2 separate regions of the Homo sapiens genome follow, and region 1 is linked to region 2. Evidence: promoter capture Hi-C in human tissues and cell types (Jung and others, 2019). All regions are on one chromosome and are shown on one strand. Each heading gives the region's core, a stretch centred on a gene start or on the middle of the fragment in contact. The rest is flanking DNA. Distances are from core to core; before and after follow the strand shown. Region 1 has its middle 37 kb from the start of FAM110C. Region 2 holds the start of FAM110C (family with sequence similarity 110 member C).

Region 1 (4,564 bases), core at 1,670-4,169, 38 kb after region 2:
ACAAGTACATTTGTTCACTTCAAATATTCTCTTGCTATTCCTTATGGAAAGAACATCTTTTTGGACCCTGGAAGACAGTTTGAATAGAGGGAAGACATCCTCAGCAGTCCGCATGGAACACGTTGATGAAAGTGCTGGGAGCAGCTCCCTGTTGTAGTGATGCTGTGCCCTTGCAGGGGGGATAGGAACAGTTGATAGCTGTTCACAAGCCATGCTGAGAGGTGGCATGGCTCATGGTAGATCAGATTCAGAGCCAGAGGGGCTCGGAAATCACCTGGCCCAGCCCCTCATCACAAGGTGAGGCAACCTGCAAGGGGTGATCTATTTTAGTCTTCAAAAGACAGCTAACCCACCACTGATGCCTTGTTAAGCTAAGCCCATGATTATTAGGAAGCCAAACAGGTTAAGTGGGACTTCGTCTGTTCCACCAAGCAGAGACCCAATGTGAAAATTTCTTGGTGTCTTCCTGACTGATATAAACAAATGTGTACCCACATTCTTTGACCCACTAATTTTAATTAATTTGGTAGTCTTGATTCAAGTACATTTGACAAGGGAAGACAAAGACAAGAATGTCTTTATCAATATGAACTATCACTACCATTTTGGAATATTGGTCTATTTCTCATCTTTTTTCTCCCTCACACTATTAATGTCTAAATAGGGGACTTGTGTTTCTAGGATTAAAAATAATTCAATTATTGATATCTGTGTATGATCTCAGCCAATAACTTGTCTAAAGGGAATATTTTATTCCTGGGCTAAGAATATATTTCTGTATCCAATGCACATTTTTAAAACATAATTTTCATTAAGAAATATTACACACATGTAAAGAAAGTATGGAAAACATAAATGTATGCTTTAATGAATTATTACATGAACACTAATGTAACTACTATCTAGATCAAGATGTAAAATGTTGTCAGTATGTCTTCTGTCTAACCTCGTCCTGATGTTAATGTCTCCTAGCTAAACATCACCAGGGGCACAAGTTGGGTTTACTATTTGAAAAGAGAGAACAAAGACCAGGTGGAATGGCAGAGCTTTCCAGCCGGAGGGTGTTAGAAAGAACCTATTATAGGATTTGACTTGTGCTTGGTAATTTGGGGTGGGGGGAATCTAAGGAACTAGGACTGTCTTTGGATTGGATCTTCTCAGGAAATAAGAGAAAATTTTTAATTTGATGCCTCAGTAAGTCTTACCGAGAAAGACGAAGGACTAGATCTAGGCTGAACCTGTAACTGGTAAAGATGTAGCCGTCACTCACATTATCCAGGAGAAGGGGATATTTGCAGTTCTGTGGCTTGGAAAATGTTCATATTTTGTCTGTGTTCAGATGTGATTGTTGGGGAATCTTGTTTTTGCCTTATTCCATGACTGATGTTGTCTGATGCTGTCTGATGCTGATGTTCTCTGACTTGTTTGTCTTCAACAGGAGAGCACCAAGGGCTTACTCAAGGTACAAGGCCAGCCCCTGACCATAAGGGCAGAAGAGGGTACCATATCCCCTTCCCATGCCCCCCTTCCTGAGAGTAGGGATGGACTAGCAACCACTGTGTCATTTAAATGTACCTTTTGTAATGACAAGAATTAAGGTATTGAAATTGTCTACTTGATAGGGATAGGTAAGTTTTTTTAATCTCATGTTCACATTGAGGTTTTTTTTTCTCCTCCAGATCAACATCAAAACAATTCTTCTTTTTCCTCAATTGTTTAATTAACTTCTGAAGAAGGCATTTAAGGATTAAATAATTAGATGACAATCACAACCTCTCTGGGGCATATGTCTTTATTTTCTTAATAATTCTTTATCTATAACTTTAAAAAGCCCTGACTATGACTTGTGTAGTTATGTTGTGGTCTTTAATCTTTCTCCAACCTCAAATCCATGCCAAGTGTATCTAACCTGTAATGAAGTAAGGGGAAATGGTGTGTGGTATACATTTTCAATAATCAGCTAATGACTAGCAGCAGGAAAACTGCACCAAAAACATATAAAACATGTCTTCTTTATTTCACCACATAGCTCCCAGGGTCAAGAAACTTGCAATATTCTCCTGACTTTGGCATAACTTGCTGTGGAATATTGGGTTTGATTCTAGCATCTGTAATATGGGGGTAAGAGGATTTCTGGGGATAAGTGAAGCAAGACAGATAACATGCTCTGAGTTCTTAAAAAACTGCTTAATGTTTTACAAAATTTTTCTAATTTTCATTTGCACATTTTATCCATATCATAGACTTGTATAGCAGTTATTATTTTAAGTAAGATGAGAATATTCAACCACACAGAGGTTTGCAATCAGCACATATAGCTTATCTTAGAGTCAGAAACTCCATCTTCTTTTTTTTCACTTGAAACATTTATATTCTTACCATTCTGCCACTGAATTTTTCAGCTTGGCTCTTCAGGGCTGTTCTCTTAAAGAAACTTTTGCTAATTTTTCTTTAAGAGTCTCATTTGCATGCAATCAAAGCACTATGCTAAGAAAGCAAGAAAAACAAAAGCATCTACCTCTGTTGGCATCAGGGCTGTGGCTTTCAGTTCAAGAATTACTGCAGTGTTGAAAATGAGCTCATGGATGAACAGCTCTGCATGGATTCAAATGTGGCTGTTTCCTGGCACCTGCTTCCCAAGTCATTGCAGGCTGTAATTCGTAGTTACTAAGCACCATGTGGGCATTACCAGCATTTCCGATATGCAGTGCCACCTGCTTTCCTGTTAGTAGTTACTAGTATTTTGGGACACTCTGAGGAAATCTGAAGTGGTAAATCAGTGGGCACTCATCAATAAAAGAGAAAAATGTGCATATATTCCAACCACTGCCCTCAGAAAACATTCATTGTCGTACAGACTCCCTGAGCCTGCTCCAGGCACTTACACAAAGTAGACTGTATTTTTTCCTCTTTCTATTTTATCTAGAGGTAGATATTATCAGAGATATTATAGAAGTACAGAGAAAAAGGCAAAACAACAGGTAACAATAGATGCATGACAACCATTATTCAGGAATAGAAAGAACTATTGGCAAGGGTAAAAGTAACTGACAAGGGTAAGTTTCTTGACTTAAAAAAATCAATGACACAAGAAAGAACATGAGGTCTTACAGCCAAAGAGCTGAGCTTAAGAACCACACTGTGCTCATTAGATGAGACCTGGGCTGATTGTCTCACTCCTCAAAGTGCCCTTTTCTCATCTGTAGAATGGCAATTCTAACACCTCTTCTACCAACTTTCTTGGGACCCCTAATATTTTGTTTAGTTGCCCCTTGCCAACATTAGTAATAAAGTTTATCTGTAAAATGAAAGAACTAAATTAAATAATTGCTAGGTCTTCTTCCAAACTCTAGAATTGAAAAAAATATGGCTTTCTGTTTTCCCCATTCTCTGAGTACCTAGTTCACATCATAAGATCACATAAGGCACTGACAATCACCAGGGTTTGGAACAGCTAGTATGTTCCGGGCCCTTCATGGTGTTATCACTGTCTTCATTTTACCTCCTTTCCCAGAAAACATACATACTTCATTAGTTTAAGAGTATTTACATATTGTTTTGTCAAACACTAATTAGGCACCTAATATGTACTAGGCACTATGTATTAAATACGAATATTTCAGATTTACAAATGAAGAAGCTTACATTAAACAGCAACAGATTAAATAGCCAGTTAGTTCCTGAAGCAGGATTCAAACTGAGGTCTGTTATTCCAAAGGTTATATTCTACCACGATGCTATTTCTTCAAAGATTTCATCTGATAAAAATGGAATGTCTTTAAATTTTCAAACGTTTCTACTGAACAGAATCTTGGGGGAATACACATTGTCTGGTCATGAGTACCACGGCCTAAAAAGGTTTTTGCTGATGAGTGAGAAATATGAAGAACATCTCTTCTGATCCATAATATCTAAGTTGCAGGTGTCCTGCACTGCTACTGTAGCCAAAAAACACTACAACCTGGGCAGCTATCGTTTAATGGAAAGATCAAGGCTTGAAGTAAAAAATTAGGGCCCTGACCCTTACTCTGTCCAATACAGCTTATTCCTTTAAACAAATTTTTTAACTTCTCAGAATTTGGTTCTACTATCTTTAGAACAGATGACAAACTATTGTACGCCTACCTCACAAAGACATGTGAAAGCATATTGTAAAACGTAATGCTCTGTGAGTATAAAGAATTACTAATCACAGTGGAAGAAGGCATTTCAAGTACTGATTAACTAAAGCTGAGCTTGATGTTATGACTTGAAGCCTCGAAGCAAGAAAGATTGCTCAGTGAGTGGGCAGAGAAAGAATGTCACAGAGTTCCCATCACCTGGGTTTGGATGCCCAAGGAAGGAGCCCGGTAGTGGAGCAGAAAGTACCAGATGTACCAGAAGATACCAGACAAGGCTAATGGTTAGGTTCATGAATAGAATTAGCCTGAGGAAGGGGACAGTAGCTCACAGGCCAAATGCCTGGGCAGTCATTGACAAACTACCAACCCCAAACTGTAACTTGAGGAAGAGTTGGGTCACCAAAGCCAGGGCCCAGCAGAGGGAAATTGTGGGGAAACCCAAA
Region 2 (4,858 bases), core at 888-3,387:
TCAAACATAGGTGAGCCCTGTGCAAACATCTCTTGGGCAGCCTCCCCCAAACTCTACAGGCTGCCATGCATCTTCACTTAGTTTATCACAATGGCAGAAAATAATTTCATCTCATGATTTTTAAAATTTACTTATAGCAAGTTGTCATTGAAGGGTAAGAGGAAAAAAAAGATGTCGCAAAGTTTAAATTGTTCGTTCTCAAAGACAGCCCTGAAAAGGTTCTTTCTCTTCACTACTTTCCAAGACGCCCATAGGGAAGAGCAGGTAACAGTGAAGACCAGCACTCCTCAGTTCCCCAGTGAAAAGCAAAAAGAGCTCGAGGTCAATCCGGCACTACTGGTTGTCCAAAGGGAGGTTACTTCCTGTAGTGTCATCAGAGGCAAATAAACTATAGACTCTAGTTACAATCTAGTCCAATTTCCCCAGTTTAAAAACCTGAAGCTCTCAAAACAATTTAAATAAAATTTAGCCAAATAAAGATCTTTGTTGCTAAGTGAATGCCAAAGTGCTACAAGATCCTGTGGAGAAGTTCTCACCACTTCAGCACAGGCCTCCAGGAAAGTGCAGGGAGTCTTCCTTTCTGTTCCAGTAACACAGCAGCGCCTACCTAGGGCTGCAGGTGGACTGGTCAGCTCCAATCAAACATCAGGACCGCCCACAGCACAGGTCAATGAACTCAGGAACTAGGGCTCTCAAGCTGTTTTCAGCTCAGGAAAGAATACTAGGGGTGTAAAACTGCTTTCTGGCAGCATTTTGGATTTCTCCTGTTTTCACAATAATAAGCCAAATGGGACATATTAATTTGCAGAATTGCCTTTCCAGGCAGCCAGACGCAGCAGACTCCTAAGGGCCTGGACCAGCAGGTGCCTGGATTGGTACCTTCTGCTCTTCAGCAGCGGGGGCTCAACTCACAAGCCTCTGCGTCAGTCTCTTGGGTCCCTTTCACACTGTAGCTCAAAATCGCACTCAATTCTAAGCAGCTGTAACTGGCCATCGCCCAGCTCGGTCACACTCACCAAGATTCACAGCCCCGCACACGGCCAGCCCCGCCCCCAGCCTTCTGGGCACACACCTCGGGTCCGGCTCTGCTCCTGGCTGGGGGTCTCCTTGGCCTTCTTACAGGTGTACAGCCACTTGATGATGCGGGCGTTCCTCTCGATGACCGAAGTGGTGCTGGGCACCTGCTCTATCAGCTCCTCCTCCTGCAGCCCCTCGTCGTCGCCGCCGCTGTGCCGGGAGAAGCCGCTGCCGGAGGTGGCGACGCTCACGCTGCGCACCTTGAGGGTCACACAGTCCGACCCCGCGGTGAAGTTCTCCCTCCCCAGGGCCTCCACCACCTCGGGGTCCAGGCCGCAGTACTGGAAGAAGGTGTCAGACTCGGCCAAGGCAGCGGAATAGCGGGAGCTGAGGTCCGACTGTGAGCGCTGCAGCCCCCGACGCCTCACCACCCGCGGCTCTGGCCCAGGGGGCGCGGCCGGGACACTGGAGGGCGCCGCGGACCGCGCGGCTGGGGCTGGGGTCTCGGGGATTGCGGGGTCCGCCGCGGGGCCAGGAGTGGTCGGGACCGTCTCCGGGTTCCCGGCCTTGCCCTCGTCTCCCGTCCGGGGCACCGGCGCCTTGTCCTTACCCGGCCCCTGGAAGAGCTTCTTCACCAGGCTTGCCCTGGGGCCGTCGGCGCCCGATCCTCGCACGAATTCGCATTTCTGCCGGTAGATGATCAGCGAGTCCGGTCTCAACGGCTTCCGCGCAATAGCCCTGCGCGCCACCGGGGCCGGGGCGCGGGCCGGGGGCCCAGGGTCGTTCCCCGGGCACTTGATCGCCCCCGGGCCGCTGCCCTCGGAAGCGACGCCCCGGCCAGTCCCCGGCCGACCCCGCACATACTTGGCGCGATCCGCCGCCAGCCTCTCCACTGCGCTCCTGCGCGCCGGCCGCGCGGCGTCGGGGTCCCGGGTAGCCGCGGGGTCCCGGGGAAGGAGCCGCTCGTTCGGGGGCGCGCTCAGGGCCGCCAGGGCGCGCATCTTCGCGGGGAATGGACCGACCGGGGTTCCGGGTCCAGCGGAGACGCGCTCGAGTGGTAGAGCCAGTCAGTCCCAGGGCCGGTTCCGAAGTCCGCGCCGGGTGGGGAACGGCGCCCCAGTGCCCAGCTGCCCAGGCCCGGGGTTGGGGAGAACCGGAGTCTGCACCGATTGGCGAAACTCCCCAGTTCCCGCCCCTCCCGACCTCATCGCCCACACCGACTGGCACCGCCCCCGCCCCCGCCCGGTGCCCCGGCCCTGGCCGCGTCCCCGCATCCCCGCTCGTCCCCGCCCGTCCCCGCCTCCTCACTCCCGCCCGGGCCCGCCTCCCTGGCCGCTCTCCGGGTGCCAGCGCCCGCCCTCACCTCGCGTCCGGGGTCCCGGCCCTCACCTCCTGCCCGGTGCCGTCCCCGCCCCCCCTCACCTTCCGGCGGCGCTGCCAACCGCCTGGAGGACGCTGGGGCGAGCAGGCTCTGAACCCCCACTCGCTCAGCCCCAGATCCCCGAGGTCACTGCTGGACGCAGGCATTTCCGGGGAGGGGGAGCAGAGGGGACGTCCCCCCACCTCCCCCGGGCAGGTGCCTCACATCCTTTGAATTCTTAAAGTGACCTCATCGTGTTTGGAAACTTGACTGTTTAATTTTGTCTACCTGAGCTCATATTCTTATTAACAGAAAGGAATAGGACATAAGAGGAAAGAACACGCAGCGCACGCCAGGATCAGCCTACGTGTTGGGTGGCAAGAACGCAGGGCCTCGGATTGGGTCCGACTCGGTCGCTGGCCGGCAGCGGGCGTGGCCGGGCCCGAGGACCGAGCTAGGACTCTCAGTGGGGCAGGCTGGGGCCCCAGGCGCGGCTCAGTGGATTTGGAAGAAGCCCAGCCAAGTGTCCAGAATCATTGCTATTTTTACGGTAACCGAGGCAACGGGGAAACCACGAGTTCACCAGGCAGTGGATCAGCCTAGGAATGCTAAGAGTCTAAGATAAAATACTTCCCAAACTCCATTATTTCAAAAATTTGGACAAAATACTAAAGTTATCTCTCAGACATGTGAAATGTTCACGTTATCGCGTTGTGAAGACAACTCCGTAACAGGCTGTGCTTTCAGCCTTGTGGTTGAACGCTCCGAGCAGCAGCAGCCCGGAAGGCAGGGAGGGCGACAGGTGCAGATGGGCCCCCAAAGTGGGCACGAACACCTCACCAACGAGGAAGAGGACCGCAGCAGGGTGGTGCTGAGTGGGCCTTGGGGGTCTTTAATCTCCTTGAGCCCCAGCGAAGCAAAATTTCATAGGGATAGTAGCACAACAATAAATCGCCTCCTGAAAGCCAGACCGCCCAGACAGCCTCGTTGGAACATGTAAGACTCATAGGAAAAGGAGTCTAGGCCAATAAAGTAGAGAGTGGGAGAAGAGAAGGAAGGATGCGGGGGTGGGGAGTGAAAGAGAGGGACAGAGATGGAGAAAGGGGGAGCTCCTGGGTTGCCACAGATGGTTTCCTACAGGATGCGGGAGGATGGGGCCTTGAGGTCTAAAGTCCAGCCTGCTCTCTGCTTGGCAAGCCTGTTCCCTAAGTCAGAGGAAAAAACCTTTTTAATTGTGTAGCCCAAAGTGTCTTCTTTTCCTAATTTGCACTACTTCATGGGCAACAGCAGCACTTCTAAGACAGAGAACTGCAAAGTACAGGACCTCTGGAATTTGACCCTGGGTCCACAATTTACCTTTGGACAGGTAACAAACGTTCCAGGTTGTTTTGTCACCTGTAAAAATTTCTGTTTTAAATTTACAAGAAAAGACAATCCCATTAAAAAGCGGACAAAGGACATGAACAGACACTTCTCAAAGGAAGACATTTATGTGGCCAACAAACATATGAAAAAAGCTCAACATCATAGATCATTAGAGAGATGCAAATCAAAGCCAATGAAATACCATCTCACGCAAGTCAGAATGGCTGTTATAAAAAGTCAAGAAACAACAGATGCTAGAGAGGCTGCAGACAAATAGGAACGTTTTCACACATTGATGGGAATGTAAATTAGTTCAACTACTGTGGAAGACAGTGTGACAATTACTCAAAGACCTAGAACCAGAAATATCATTTGACCCAGCAATACCATTACTGAGTATACACCCAAAGAAATACAAATTATTGTCTTATGAAGATACATGCACACATATGTTCACTGCAGCACTACTCACAATGGCAAAGATGTAGAATCAACCCAAAGGCCCATTATAGACTGGACAAAGAAAATGTGATACATATACACCATGGAATACTATGCATCCATAAAAAATAATGAGATCATGTACTTTGCAGGGACATGGATGGAGCTGGAAGCCATTATCTTCAGCAAACTAACACAGGAACAGAAAACCAAACACCACATGTTCTCACTTATAAGCGGGAGACGAACAATGAGAACACATGGACACAGGGAGGGCAACAACACACACTGGGGCCTGGTGGGAGGTGGGGAGACAGAGGGGGAGAGAGAGCATCAGGAAAAATAGCTAATGCATGCTAGGCTTAATACTTAGGTGATGGGATGATAGGTGCAGCAAACCACCATGACATATGTTTACCTATATAATAAATCTGCACATCCTGAACATGTACCCCAGAACTTAAAATCAAATAAACATATTTTAAGCTGATAACTTTAATCACATACAGAAATTCTACCTCCTTACAGCTCCTCCCTGCTCCCACTTATCTTATTGGTGTCACAAATTAGATCTTTATATATTGGATACGCATTAACATAGATTTATACTCTTTTTCTTTTGATTCTTGTAACAGAATAAAAAGTGAAATTTTAGCCCCCTCCCAAAAAAATCGC

What was found. The method cuts DNA at HindIII sites, captures the fragments that hold promoters and counts their contacts. A contact is called where the count stands out against the background at its distance.
Region 1: a contact is called between a fragment that was not itself captured here and the fragment with the promoter of FAM110C in region 2, in 1 of the 25 tissues and cell types used here (H1 embryonic stem cells).

The regions. Positions count from the first base shown.
Region 1 is chr2:81,690-86,253 of GRCh38, forward strand. No RefSeq gene overlaps it. Among named protein-coding and RNA genes, the nearest start is that of FAM110C, 37 kb to the left of the region's middle. The HindIII fragment of the contact is 9,190 bases long and covers 1-4,564 here.
Region 2 is chr2:44,368-49,225 of GRCh38, forward strand. FAM110C (family with sequence similarity 110 member C) reads right to left here and starts at 2,138. Exons shown (of 2, transcript NM_001077710.3): 1 at 1,073-2,138. The coding sequence starts at 2,018. The HindIII fragment of the contact is 12,024 bases long and covers 1-4,858 here.